Linked DNA regions of Homo sapiens: region 2 is linked to region 1. Evidence: promoter capture Hi-C in human tissues and cell types (Jung and others, 2019). All regions are on one chromosome and are shown on one strand. Each heading gives the region's core, a stretch centred on a gene start or on the middle of the fragment in contact. The rest is flanking DNA. Distances are from core to core; before and after follow the strand shown. Region 1 holds the start of SEC24A (SEC24 homolog A, COPII component). Region 2 overlaps CDKL3 (cyclin dependent kinase like 3).

Region 1 (7,462 bases), core at 3,716-6,215:
AGCTGGGACTACTGGGCCCGCACCATGCCTATTTTTTAAAAATTCTTTGTAGAGACAGGTTCTCACTATGTTGCCGAGGGTGGTCTTGAATTCTTGGGCTAAAACAATCCTAGCACCTCGGCCTCCCAAAGTGCTGACATTACAGGTGTGAGCCACCACACCTGGTGAGGTCTTTTGACTATAATATATAAAATATCTGTGCTAGATGTTGTGGCTCATGCCTGTAATCCTAGCTCTTTGGGAGGCCAAGGCAGGAGGATTACTTGAGTCCAGGAGTTCAAGACCATCCTGGGCAACAGAGTGCAGCTCTGTTTTCTAAAAAAAACTGTTTAGTTAGCCAGGTTTCAGGGCATGTGCCTGTAGTCCTAGCTTCACAGGAGGCTGACGTGGGAGGATCACTTCAGCCAGGAGGTTCGAGGCTGCAGTGAGCCATGATCAAGTGACTACACTTCAACTTGGGTGACAGAGCAAGACCCAGGCTCTTTAAAAAACAAACAAACAAACGAAACTGGAACGGGTATGGTGGCTCACACCTGTAATGCCAGCACTTTGGGAGGCTGAGGCAGGAGGATCATGAGGTCAGCAGATAGAGGCCATCCTGGCCAACATGGTGAAACCCCGTCTCCACTAAAAATACAAAAATTAGGCCGAGCACAGTGGCTCATAACTGTAATCCCAGCACTTTGGGAGGCAGAGGCGGGCAGATCACGAGGTCAGGAGATTGAGACCATCCTAGCTAATATGGTGAAACGCTGTCTCTACTAAAAAAAAAAAAAAAATACAAAAAATTAGCCGGGTGTGGTGGCGGGCACCTATTGTCCCAGCTACTCGGGAGGCTGAGGCAAGAGAATGGCATGAACCCAGGAGGCGGAGCTTGCAGCGAGCCAAGATCGCACCACTGCACTCCAGCATGGGTGACAGAGTGAGACTCCGTCTCAAAAAAACAAAAACAAAAACAAAACAAAACAAACAAACAAAATACAAAATCAGCCAGGCATGGTGGCATGTGCTACAGGTGCCTGTAACCCCAGCTACTCGGGAAGCTGAGGCAGGAGAATCGCTTGAACCTGGGAGGTGGAGGTTGCAGTGAGCTGAGATCGCACCACTGCACTCCAGCCTGGCAACACAGCAAGACTCCGTCTCAAAAACAAAAAACACCAAACTGGCCAGGCACAGTGGCTCACGCCTGTAATCCCGGCACTTTAGTAGGCCGAGGTGGGCGGATCACCTGAGCTCGGGAGTTCGAGACCAGCCTGGGCAACGTGGCGAAACCCCGTCTCTACTAAATATACAAAAATTAGCTAGACATAGTGGCGCATGCCTGTAGTCCCAGTTGCTCAGGAGGCTGAGGCAGAATTGCTTGAACCCAGGAGATGGAGGTTGCAGTGAGCCAAGATCACGCCACTGCACTCCAGCCTGGGCAATAGAGAAAGACTATCTCAAAAACAAAAAACAAAAGCAAACTGAAGATCTAATTATACTGTAATATGTAATTTAAGCAAACTTCATTAAATACTTAAGACTTTTCGGCCAGGCGCGGTGGCTCACGCCTGTAATCCCAGCACTTTGGGAGGCCGACGCGGGCGGATCACCTGAGGTCAGGAGTTTGAGACCAGCCTGACCAATGTGATGAAACCCTGTCTCTACTAAAAATACAAAAATTAGCCGGGTGTGGTGGCATGCACCTGTAATCCCAGTTGCTCAGGAGGCTGAGGCAGGAGAATTGCTTGAATCTGGGAGGCAGAGGTTGCAATGAGCCATTGCACTCTAGCCTGGGCAACAAAAGTGAAACTCCATCAAAAAAAAAAAAAAAAAGAGTTTTCAACAGAATATGCAAGCATCAACTACTGCTTTGGAATAGTTAAGCAAAACTAGATCCCAGCATTGAAACGTTTTCTCACCTTCTTGAAAAATATCCTGTTCTCCAACTTGATACCATATCCCTACTCTCTGTATTATTAGCAGGATGAACAATAAAACAACCCAGGCTAGGCTTGGTAGCTCATGCCTCTAATCCCAGCACTTTGGAAGGCTGAGTCAGGAGGATCACTTGAGGTCAGGAATTTCAGACCAGCCTAGGCAACATAGAGAGACTCATCTCTACAAAATATATATAAAACATTATATATATAATATACATATATCTTTACATTAGGCCGGGCGTGGTGGCTCATGCCTGTAATCCCAGCACTTTGGGATGCCAGGGTGGGCGGATCATTATGAGGTTTGGAGTTCAAGACCAGCCTGGCCAACATGGTGAAACCCCATCTCTACTAAAAATACAAAAATTAGCCGGTTGTGGTGGCACAGGCCTGTAATCCCAGCTACTCGGGAGGCTGAGGCACGAGAATCACTTGAACCTGAGACATGGAGGTTGCAGTGAGCCGAGATCGAGCCATTGTACTCCAGCCTGGGCAACAGAGTGAAACTCTGACTCAAAAAATAATAATAAAATATATACATTATATATATATATTATATACTTATATAAAAAATGGGGCCTGGTGGTATGCACCTGTAGTTCTAGCTACTGGGGAGGCTGAGGTGTGAGGATTGCTTGAGCCCAGGAGTGACAGTGAGTTGTGATCCTGCCACTGCACTCCAGCTTGAGGGACAGTTTAAGTAAGATCCTGTCTCAAAAAAAAAAAAAAGGCAAAATACAAAAAACCTGTAGAGGCCAGGCACAGTGGCTCATGCCTGTAATCCCAGCACTTTGGGAGACCAAGGTGGGTGGATCACTAGAGGTCAGGAGTTTGACATCAGCCTGACCAGCATGGTGAAACCCCGTCTCTACTAAAAATATAAAAATTAGCTGGGTGTGGTGACACGTGCCTGTAATCCCAGCTACTTCAGAGGCTGAGGCAGGAGAATTGCTTGAACCTGGGAGGAGGAGGTTGCAGTGAGCCGAGATAGCGCCATTGCACTCCAGCCTGGGAGACAAAAGCAAAACTCCGTCTCAAAAAACAAACAAACAAACAAACAAACAAAAAACCCTGTAGAAATGGAACTTATAAAAAGACTATGAAAATTATATTTTAAAAAAGAGGTCTGGGTACCGTGGATCAGGCCTGTAATTACAGCACTTTGGAAGGTTAAGGAGGCAGGAGAATCGCTTGAACCCAGGAATCAGAGGTTGCAGTGAGCCAAGATCACCACCACTGCACTCCAGCCTGGGCAACAGAACAAGACTCCATCTCAAAAAAAAAAAAAAAGATGTGGAACAAATGTCTGTTGGACTGTATCAAATCAACATAGTGACAGTATCTCTAATACAGCATACCACAGTGGTCAAATCCCTTTAACATTTCAATATTATGACAACTACACTCATATATAAATGTTGAAGCACATTTGAGGATTTGTCATTTAAAGTTAATGTAAAACTGCAATTTATAGATTATAAGAAAAATCCATAGCCATGTAACATTTTTTCTCATCCTCAGTGTAAATGTTACTAAATATTCTAGAATAAAATGTAGTGTACATAATCTGTTACCATAATTTTGAGAAAGAATGGTTAACTCAGTACCCTTTCAGTGGCTTTCCTCCACTTATTCTTTCTTCTGCCCACATAGTTGCCTACTCACAGACATTTTTAAAAGTCTTTTAGAGCCATCTTTGTAAAGAAAACAGCGGTCTTCTCTAAAAACAATGTAAATTAGAGATTTTAGTCACTGTCTGTATTCTCCAACTTCACAGAACTCTTAGACTCTAATGGGCAACTTAAGTTCTTTAGCATTATTCTACTAGTCTTATTTCTGTAAACCAAAGATTTGTAAGTAAATTGGTAAGTAGGCAATCTGTCGGCAGAAAGTCTTTGTCTATTGTAACAACTGAAATAATCTTAGCAAATCACAATGTAGGACGATTTAAGGAATCCTAGAAGAGGTATAAAATTATAAGACATTCTCACATCAAATGACAAACTATAATGTACATGTAGACTCTTGTCAGAGATTCAGAGAGTTGTGTCCACCCACTTTCCAAATGCTGTCCAGACATCTAGAAGTCAACCAGGAGATCCTCCCTTCTATTTGGTTTTTCCACAGCTGAAACATTGAACAGCTGTTGTAGGTACAATTCTGGGAAGGTTCTGGGAGAGATGAGTAGGCCCTAAAGGGGTGTCCCAAAAGCATGCATTCATCTCCAGAAACTCAGACTGAGTACGACCCCCACCCCACTTCAGGGCCTGCGGAACCCAGAAGAATCAGACCCCACATCCTGCTCTCTAGGAGACTGGGGTGAGGTGGCAAGGAAGGCGAAGGCACACAAACACTATGATCCTTATATTCGAGTTTTGAGGCATTTTCTCACCCGTGTTTCACCCAGGGCGTTGCATACAGCAGGTGCTCATTTACTGTTTTGGTGACCGACTAAATAAATGTGAAAGACTGAGACGAGCCTGGGGCTACAGGTGCACAACTGCCGTGGTCCCCTGGCCCAGCCGCCCACCACCATCCGCGCCAGAACCCGGTAAGGAGGTCACTCTCTCTATCTATGTCGCCTCAAGCAGCAGTGGCACGCAAAGGTCAGTCAGCCCTGGCCAGGCTGCGCCCTCCCCCCGGACAGCACTCACCGTTGGTGTAGGGAGACCCCGAGGCCAAGGCGGCTCCGTTCTGGGCCTGGAGGCTGGCTGGGGCGCCGCCGGAGGCCGGTATTCCCGGCTGGGACATGATGACTGGGTTGGAAGGGGCTGGTCGGGGTCGACAACAGCGCACAAGAAGAGAGCTGAAAGACCACTGCTGAAAGCGGAGGGAGGAGGCTAACGACTTAAGACTGAAGACTGGGAGAAGAGGGGGGGGCGCATTAAGCCCGAGGCATGGCGCCGCACTCTCCCCAGGCCACCGGCGGCCACAGCCTAGCCTGGGAGCTGAGGCTTGAGAGTCGGGCCGGCGGGGCCGCGAACGCCCGGCTAGAAGGCGGCAGCCAAACCTAGAGAGAAGGAGGGAGGCCCTGGCCGGAAGTGCCTGTCAGCCGCCGGCCGCGCAGCCGCAATCAGGACACGTGGCACTTCCGGCTCCGGGCTCGCAGCAGCCGCCGCCGCGCCGGCGAACTCTTCTCTGCCAGCCGGGCTGCCCCGAGGCCACCTGACAGCTCCTGGTGCCCCGACCCCGACGACCGTGCCCGGCCTCGCCGCCACGTCACCGACTCTCACGGCCGGCCGGAAGTGCCGTGTGTCACCGCTACGGAAATTCCCGCCGTTGTGAACGTGACCTCGCTCGCAGAGCCAGGATCGTGGGGCAATCTGAGATTCAGTAGCCGCTTTCGTGGGGTGGGACTGACAGTTCCTCTCCTCGGGTTTTGTGAAGATTACCTGAGACCATAGAAGTCATCGTCCTCTGTTGAGACCGTACCACCACTGGGAGCTGGGGCGGTTAATGTTCATCGCAGTATTTCATTCACATTTCGTCTTCGTGTTTCAGATGTAAATTATAAGGGGTTTTAAAAAGAGGTGGTTAAATATGTGTACATGTTAATAGTGTGATCAAGCCAAGAAGGAGGCCTTTGTCTTTGACTGGAGGACTCAGAGGAATTTTAATTTTGAAACTCGCTGATTCACAGCATAGTCACGCTCAAGTTCATTAGCACATTTAAATGGCAGTTTTGTTTCCTCTTCTAAGAGTTTACAGTAAGGTAAAGAACTCAAACTTCCTTTCAGAGCAAGTAGACTTTTTTTTTTTTTGCAAGTTGACTTTTTTGACTTTTGAAGCCAAAGGGAGGTCGAAACTGCGGTGATTGGACAACATAGTTAATTAATGATTGAGTAATCATCTTAGCTGCCTTCATTCTATTTAGGTTTTTCCTGCTCTGTGCTGACGATAAAGCCCTCCTTTACAGATTTGTACTGTGGATTAAAATGTCATGCCACGCGGTTTCGAAACCTCAGTGTGAAGTACATCTTACCTAATTCATTTAATACCAAATGCCTGCTATGAAGTGTTATATTACATACAAAAAAAAGCCAGATCTAAACCACTGTGTCGGGCTGGGCAAGGTGGCTCACTCCTGTAATCCAAGCACTTTGGGAGGCTGAGACAGAAGGATTACTTGAGGCCAGGAGTTTGAGACCAGTCTGGACAACAGGGAGAGTCCCCTTATCTCTATTTAAAAAATATATATATATATATATTTTTGAGACAGAGTCTTGGTCTGTTGCCCAGGCTGGAGTGCAGTGGTGCCATCTCCGCTCACTGCAACCTCCGCCTCCTGGGTTCAAGCAATTCTCCTGCCTCAGTCTCCCGAGTAGCTGGGATTACAGGCTCCTGCCACCATGCCTGGCTAATTTTTGTATTTTTAGTAGAGACAGGGTTTCACCATGTTGGCCAGGCTGGTCTTGAACACCTGACCTCAGTTGATCCACCCGCCTCAGCCTCCCAAAGTGCTGGGATTACAGGCGTAAGCCACCATGCCCAGCCAATGTTTTTAATTAAATAAATTTTTAAAAAGTGGCCAGTGTGGTGGCACATCCCTGTAGTCCCAGCTACTCAGGAGGCTGATGTGGGAGGATCACCTGAACCCAGGAGTTCGAGGCTACAGTGAGCTGTGATCTCACCACTGCACTCCAGCCTGCATGACAGAGTGAGATCTTGTCTCTAAGAAAAGAAAAAGAATAAACCACTGTGTCAGGCCTAAAAAAGGTCAGTAAAAATTCAAATAACTAAATACTAAATTTTATACTAACCCTGTTTTCATCATTTGCCTCAGAACTTTACTAAAAATGTATTTGCTCGGGCGTGGTAGCTTACAACTGTAATCCCAGCACTTTGGGAGGCCAAGGCGGGCGGATTACCTGAGGTCAGGAGTTCAAAACCAGCCTGGCCAACATGGTGAAACTCTGTCTCTACTGAAAATACAAAAATTAGCCAGGTGTGGTGGCACATGCCTGTAATCCCAGCTACTCAGGAGGATGAGGCAGGAGAATTGCTTGAACCCAGGAGACGGAGGTTGCTGTGAGCCAAGATTGTGCCACTGCACTCCAGCCTGGCTGACACAGCAAGACTGTCTCAAAAAATAAAAAATAAAAATAAATAAATATTTGCTGTAAGTAGCATTTAACAATTCAATTCCTTTGTACAAGATCCAAGTACAATAACTTTTTTTTTTTTTTTGAGACAGTCTGTTGTCCAGGCTGGAGTGCAGTGGTGCAGTCACAGCTCATTGCTGCCTCAACCTCCTGGGCTCAAGCAGTCCTCCAGCCTCAGCCTCCTGAGTAGCTGGAACTACAGGTGTGTGCCATTATGCCTGGCTAGGTTTTTATTTGTTTGTTTGTTTGTTTGTTTGTTTTTGTAAAGAGAAGGTCTTGCAAGAGATCCTCCTGCCTCATCCTTCCAAAATGAGATTACAGGTTTGAGCCACCACGCCCAGTTAAAATCTTAAGATGAAGATGATACTTTTGGTCAAATTGTTTACAGTTTGGAGCCACTATAACAAAATCCCAAGTTATAGATCCAAAAACACTTTA
Region 2 (7,452 bases), core at 1,814-4,313, 300 kb after region 1:
TTTCTTTTGGGTATATACTTAGGAGTTAGAATTGTGGGTCATACAGTAACTCTATGTTTAGTCTTTGAAGAACTGCCAGACTGTATTCCAAAGTGTTTGTACCATTTTACATTCCCACTAGCTGAGTGTGAGAGTTTCAGTGTCTCCATGTCTTTGCTAGCACTTACCATTATGTTCTTTTGTTTAATAGCCATCCTAGCCTTTTTTTTTTTTAAAGTAAACTTTATTTTGGGATAATTTTAGATTTACAGAAAAGTTACAAAGATAGTATAGAGAGTTTCCCCATAGTCCTCACCCAGTTTCTGTTTACCCTAATATTATCATATTTCATTACTATGGAGGTTTAACTTTATCATCTCTTTTTAATTTATTACTTGAATACTTTTATAAATGGACATTTCCCCTTATTTGGTTACCTAATGGTATAGTTCACATAGAGAAACTGGGTAAATGCTTGATTTGTTTATCAATTTTAAAGATGAATTGGCTCCAACAGGTGACCTCCAAAAGCAACTAATTAATTTTTTTAGAAATATCATTATGAACTCATGGACTTAAACATATTTAATGGGTTTCAATGCATTGCAATTATCGGGGCAAAAAGATAATACCTTTTCCCGGCTGGGCACGGTGGCTCATGCCTGTAATCCCAGCACTTTGGGAGGCCGAGGTGGGCGGATCACCTGAGGTCAGCAGTTCAAGACCAGCCTGACCAACATGGAGAAACCCCGTCTCTACTAAAAATACAAAAATAGCCAGGCGTGGTGGTGCATGCCTGTAATCCCAGCTACTCGAGAGACTGAGGCAGGAAAAACGCTTGAACCCGGGAGGCAGAGGTTGCGGTGAGCCGAGATCGCACCGCAGCACCTCAGCCTGGGCAACAAGAGCGAAACTCCGTCTCAAAAACAAAAAAAGGTAATACCTTTTCCCTACCTGTAACAAGAGTCACAGCCAATACCCTTATAACAAAAGATAGGTTAGCAAGAGAAAAGCGTGACAAATTTAACAAAGTTCAATGTGACATGGAAGCCTTCATAAATGAAAACCCAAAGACCCAGGGAGAACACTGTCTGATTTTATGCTGTTTGCTGAAAGGAGTGGATAGGTGTAGAGAAACATGATTGGGCAAAAGGAGTATGATCTAATGGTAATAAACCCAGCAAGGCCTGTTTGTTCAGATTCTTCCTGGCCTCTCTGTTTTGCATTCCTTCCTTCCAGGTATGGGCAGGACCTCTCTGGAATGAAGGTCTTATGACTTACTTTCAAGGGAGGTGGATCAGAGAGTGACCATTCTATGTTTTATGGCTTGCTTTGGGGAAGAGGAATTCTAATCGCTCTGGAGGTGGGCAGGCGGAAGAGGAATCCTGGTTTCTGTGATACACCTTGGGGGAGAAAGGAGAGCAGGAGAAGGTCAGAGAGATTTTGTTTCTGAGACCCTTCTAATCTCCTTCAGTTCAAAGTATGTATCATGCCAAAGCACCATACTTTCAGGTATCATAGTCTAAGCCTGGACACAATTGTTATTATTACTGAAGTTCAAAATCAGTGGGTGCTGTCAGGCCTCTGAGCCCAACCTAAGCCATCATATCCCCTGTGACCTGCACGGATACATCCAGATGGCCTGAAGTAATTGAAGAATCACAAAAGAAGTGAAAATGGCCTGTTCCTGCCTTAACTGATGACATTACCTTGTGAAATTCCTTCTCCTGGCTCATCCAGGCTCAAAAGCTCCCCCACTGAGCATCTTGTGTCCCCTGCCCCTGCCTGCCAAAGAACAACCCCCTTTGACTGTAATTTTCCACTACCTACCCAAATCACATAAAACAGCCCCACCCCATCTCCCTTTGCTGACTCTCTTTTCGGACTCAGCCCGCCTGCACCTAGGTGAAATAAACAGCCTTGTTGCTCACACAAAGCATGTTTGGTGGTCTCTTCACACGGACACGAGTGAAAGGTGCCTTTTCAAGGTGGCTTCCCAAGTCCTTTTAACAGGACCTAGTATGTAGTCTCTGATACTTTCCTTGTGACCTGACTGACAAGATAGCAGTCCAGGCTCATTTTTCACATGTTGTTGCCCCAGACCTGGTATCAGCCATATTATGTCTTTATTAAAAACAGCATTATTGAGATATTTTTATATAATACAGTTCATCCATCTGAAGTAAATTTCAGTGGTTTTTAGTGTATTCACAGATATGTACTACCATCACCAGTCAGTTTTCATCACCTCAGTAAAAACCCCATACCCTTTATCTATGACACCCCTATACCTCTGAACTCCCTCCCTAACCCTAAGCAATCACTACTCTCTTCTCTATCTTTATAGATTTTTATTTATTTTATTTTTTTTGAGACAGAGTCTCTCTCTGTCGCCCAGGCTGGAGTGCAGTGGCGTGATCTCGGCTCACTGCAACATCCGCCTCCTGGGTTCAAGCAATTCTCCTGCCTCAGCCTCCTGAGTAGCTGGGACTACAGGCGCATGGCACCACACCCGGCTAATTTTTTTTTGTATTTTTGTAGAGCTGGGGATTCACCATGTTGGTCAGGCTGGTCTCGAACTCCTGACCTCGTGATCGACCTGCCTCGGCCTCCCAAAGTGCTGAGATTACAGATGTGAGCCACTGCACCCAGCCTATGGCTGGCTTTTTTATTTTGTAGAGACAGGGTCTCGCTATTTTGACTAGGCTGATTTTGAATTCCTGGGCTTAAGTGATCCTCCCGCCTCAGCCTACCAATGTGTTAGGATGATAGGTGTGAGCCACCACGCTGAAGCCTGACTTTTTTATTCTAGCTACTCTAATGGGTGTGAAGTGGTATCTCATTGTGGGTTTGATTCACATTTCCCTAATGTCTACTGAGGTTGAATGTCTTTTTGTGTGTGCGTGTGCTTATTGGCCATTTGTATATTGTCCTTGGAGAAATGTCTGTTCAGATCCTTTGCCTATTTTTAAAATGAGTTGTCTTTTTATTATTGAGTTGTAAGAATTTTCTGCATATCCTAGATACAAATTCCTTATCAGATATGTGATTTACAAGTATGTTCTTCCATTTTATGGGTTGTGTCTTCACTTTCTTGATTCTGTCTTTTGATTTTCAAATGTTTTTAATTTTAAGAAGTCCAATTTATCTGTTTCTTTTGTTGCCTATGCTTTTGGTATCATATTTCAAAATTGTTTGCCAAATCCAGGGTTATGAAGATTTACAGTTACATTTTCTTCTAAGAGTTATAACTTTAGCTCTTACATTCAAGTCTGATCCATTTGAGTTAATTTTTGTATATGCTATAAGGTAAGAGTCCAAGTTCATTCTTTTGCATTTGGCTATCCAGTTGTTGTCCCAGCACCATTTGATGAAAATATTGTTCTTTCCCCATTATGGTGTTGGGCTCTTTTTGAAATTCAGTTGACTATAGATGTAAGTGTAACTGCTCAAGGGGTTCACCTTGCCCGCTGCCTAGACAGAGCCGATTCATCAAGACGGGAATTGCAATAGAGATAGAATAACTCACGCAGAGCCGGCGTGAGTGTGCAGGAGACTGGAGTTTTATTATTACTCAAATCAGTCTCCTTGGGCATTCAGGGAGCAGAGTTTTTAAGGACAACTTGGTGGGTAGAGGGAGGCCAGTGAGCTGGGAGTTCTGATTGATCAGGTTTGAAATCATAGGGAGTGGAAGCTGTCTTCTTGCACTGAATCACTTCCTGGGTCTGGGGCGGCCATGAGATCAGATAAGCCAGTTTAGCAATATGGGTGGTGCCAGCTGATCCATCAAGTACAGGGTTTGCAAAATATCTCAAGCACTGATCTTAGGAGCAGTTTATGGAGGGTCAGAATCTTGTAGCCTTCAGCTACATGACTCCTAAACCATAATTTCTAATCTTGTGGCTAATGTTAGTCCTACAAAGGCAATCTGGTCCCCAGGCAAGAAGGAAGTCTGCTTTGGGAAAGGGTTGTTACTGTCTTTGTGTTAAACTATAAACTATAAACGAAGTTTCTCCTGAAGTTAGTCCAGCCTACGCCCAGGAATGAACGAGGACAGCTTGGAGGTTAGAAGCAAGATGGAGTCAATTAAGTTAGATCTCCTTCACTGTCTCAGTCATAATTTTGCAAAGGTGGTTTCATAAGGGCTTATTTCTAGAATCTCAATTCTGTTCCATTGATCTGTAAGGCTGTCCTTTTTCCAGCAACGCACTTTCTTTCCTTTTTTTTTTTTTTGACAAGATCTCACTCTGTTGCCCAGGCTGGAGTGCAGTGGCATGATCTTGGCCCACAGCAACCTCCACCTTCCAGGCTCAAACAATCCTCCCACCTCAGCCTCCTGAGTAGTTGGGACTACAGGGGTGCACCACCAAGCCTGGCTAATTTTTAAATTTTTTGTAGAGACGGGATTTCACCACGTTGGCCCGGCTGGTCTTGAATGGCTGGGCTCAAGCAATCTGCCTGCCTTGGACTCCCAAAGCATTGGGATTACGGGCAGGAGCCACCGCACGCAGCCGACACACTGTCTTAATGACTATTGCTTTGTAGCAAGTTTGAAATCAGAAAGTGTGAGTCTTTCTACTTTATTTACTTTTCCAAGATTGTTTTGGCTATTCTAGGTCCCTTCCAATTCCATATGAATTTTAAGATCAGCTTCTCAATTTTTGCAAAACAGACATCTGAGATTCTGATATGGATTACATTGTATCTGTGGATTAGTTTGGAGGTTATTGCTGTCTTAAAAATGTTAACTCTTATTCTAATCTGTGAATTTAGAATGTTTTGCCATTTATTTAGATCTTCCATAAATTTTTCTTTTTCTTTTTCTTTTTTTTTTTTGAGACAGAGTCTTGCTCTGTCGCCCAGGCTGGAGTGCAGTGGCACAATCTCGGCTCACTGCAAGCTCCGCCTCCCAGGTTCACGCCATTCTCCTGCCTCAGCCTCCCGAGTAGCTGGGACTACAAGCGTCCGCCACTACGTCTGGCTAATTTTTTGTATTTTTTTAGTAGAGATGGGGTTTCACCGTGTTAGCCAGGATGGTCTCGATCTTCTGACCTCATGATCCACCTGCCTCGGCCTCCCAAAGTGCTGGGATTACAGGCGTGAGCCACCGCACCCGGCTTCCATAATTTTTTCAACAATGTTTTGTAGTTTTCAAAGCATACATTTTGCACTTGTTTTGTAAAATTTATTCTTAAGTATCTTATTCTTTTTGATGCTATCATGAATGGAGTTTTCTTAATTTGATTTCAAATTGTTCATTGCACGGGCATAAAAATACAACTTATTTTTGTATATTGAGTTCATATTGAAGTGGTGTCATTGTCTGGAGTAAATACCCAGGGTTCGTCATCTCGTGCCAAGGAGATGAAGGACATGGACATGCATGAGGAGTGAGTTTAGGAGCAGAGGTTTAATAGGCAAAAGAAAGAGAAAGGAGAACAGCTTTCTCCCTAGTGAGAAAGAGGGGCCTCCTAAAGCAAAATCTGGCCCGCAGCAGACTGCATTAGATTTTATAGGCAGGTTTGAGGAGATGGTGTCTGATTTATGTAGGGCCCACAGATTGGTTCGACCAGGTGTGACAGTTACATACTGCAAGGGGAAGGCTGGTTGCCCCACTCTAATCTTATTATGCAAATTGGATCTTTGCCTGGCTGGGGCCATATTGTCTTCTTACTCTACATGTGGTTTGGCAAAGAGAAGGGAAGATGGAGCCACCATTTTGAACATGCTTAGTCCCAGGTAGCCTTTTCCTGTTGGCACAACTGCTGGCATTCACCTGTGCAAGCTTACAGCTTGCGTGTCTGTGTCTGCAGCACAATTTTACAGGCTGCTTTTTGTTAGAAAAGAAAATGATTTGGGGCTGCTTTTCATTAAAAGGAAAACCTTACTGAGGATCCCGTACCCTCACTGCCTGCCTAAATAATTTCTTCTTAACTCATATCATTATCATGCAACTTTGCTGAACTTGTTTATTGGTTCTCATAGTAGTTTAGTGGATTCTTTAGGATTTTCTACATAGAAGATCATGTCATCTGTGAATAGATATAGTTTTACCTTTTTGCTGGTCTGGATGCCTTTTATTTCTTTTTCCTGTCTAATTGTGCTGAGTAGAATCTGCAGTACAATGTTGAACAGAAGTGGCAAGAGCAGACATCCTTGTCTTGTTCCTAATCTTATCGGGAAATCATTCAGTCTAAGTATGATATTAGATGATTTTTCATAGATGCCTTTTATCAGGTTGGGGAAGTTTCCTTTTATTCTTAGTTTGTTGAGTGCTTTTATCATGAAGGGGTGTTGGATTTTATCAAATGTTTTTTCTTTGTCTATTGAAATGATCAAAATGAGAAATTTTTTTGGTTTTTATTCTATTGATGTATTATATTACATTTATTGGTTTTTGGATATTGAACCAACCTTGTGTTCCTAGAATAAATCCCAGTTGGTCACAGTGCATAATTCCTTTTATATGATGCTGGATTCAGTTTGCTAGTATTTTGTTGAGAATTTTGTGTTCACATTCATAAAAGATATTTGTAGTTTTCTTTTTTACTGGTTTGGGTATCAGGGAAATACTGGTTTTAAAAAATGAGATGGGATGTGTTCCTTCTGTTTTTTGAAAGAGTTTGTGAAGACTTGGTATTAATTCTTCTTTAAATGATAGAATTCAGTAGTGACATCATCTAGGCCTGGGCTTTTCTTTGCGGGTAGTTTTTTAAAAAAATCATGAATTCAGTCTTTTCACTTGTTAAAAGTTTATTGAGATTGTCTATTTTTTATTGAGCCAGTTTCAGTAGTTTGTGTTTTTCTGGGAAGCTATTCATTTAATCTAAGTTATCTAATCTGTTGGCAAACAATTATGTATTCCTTTATAATCTTTTTAATTTCTGTAAAGTCAGTAGTAATGTCACCTCTTTCATTTCTGATTCTAATACTTTGAGTTTTCTCTCTTTTGCTCTTGGTCATTCTAACTAAATGTTTTTCAATTTTGTTGATTTACAAAAAAATAGCTTTTGGTTTCATTGATTTTCTCTGTTTTCTTATTCTCTATTTAATGAACTTTTGCTTTTTAAATATTTCCTTCTTTTTGTTTGCTTGGTTTAGTTTGCCCTTCTTTTTCCAGTGTCTTAAGGTGGAAGGTTAGGTTACTGATTTGATATCTTTCTTCATATAGGCATTACAGCTATACATTTCCCTCTCTGCTTTACTGCATCCCACAAATGCTGGTATGTTGTGTCTTCATTTTCATTAGTCTCAAAGGATTTTCTTTTTCTTTTTCTTTTTTGAGACAGGATCTTGCTCTGTTGCTCAGGCTGGAATGCAGTGGTGTGATCTCGGATCACTGCAGCCTTGACTTCCCCAGCTTAAGTGATCCTCCCACCTCAGCCTCCCGAGTAGCTGAGACTACAGGTGTGTGCCCTCATGCTTGGCTAATTTTGTTCATTTTTTTGCAGAGACGAGGTCTCACTGTGTTAC

Evidence for each region. Contacts are between HindIII fragments. The study calls those that stand out against the background at their distance.
Region 2: a contact is called between a fragment that was not itself captured here and the fragment with the promoter of SEC24A in region 1, in 1 of the 25 tissues and cell types used here (mesenchymal stem cells).

Annotation. Positions count from the first base shown.
Region 1 is chr5:134,646,288-134,653,749 of GRCh38, reverse strand. It overlaps SEC24A (SEC24 homolog A, COPII component), which reads right to left and starts at 4,965. Exons shown (of 23, transcript NM_021982.3): 1 at 4,577-4,965. The coding sequence starts at 4,673. RefSeq lists enhancers at 4,780-5,317, 5,065-5,354, 5,365-5,424. The HindIII fragment of the contact is 35,050 bases long and covers 1-7,462 here.
Region 2 is chr5:134,339,963-134,347,414 of GRCh38, reverse strand. The region is part of intron 4 of CDKL3 (cyclin dependent kinase like 3); the gene reads left to right. Among named protein-coding and RNA genes, the nearest start is that of CDKL3, 23 kb to the left of the region's middle. RefSeq lists enhancers at 962-1,661, 1,662-2,360. The HindIII fragment of the contact is 9,284 bases long and covers 1-7,452 here.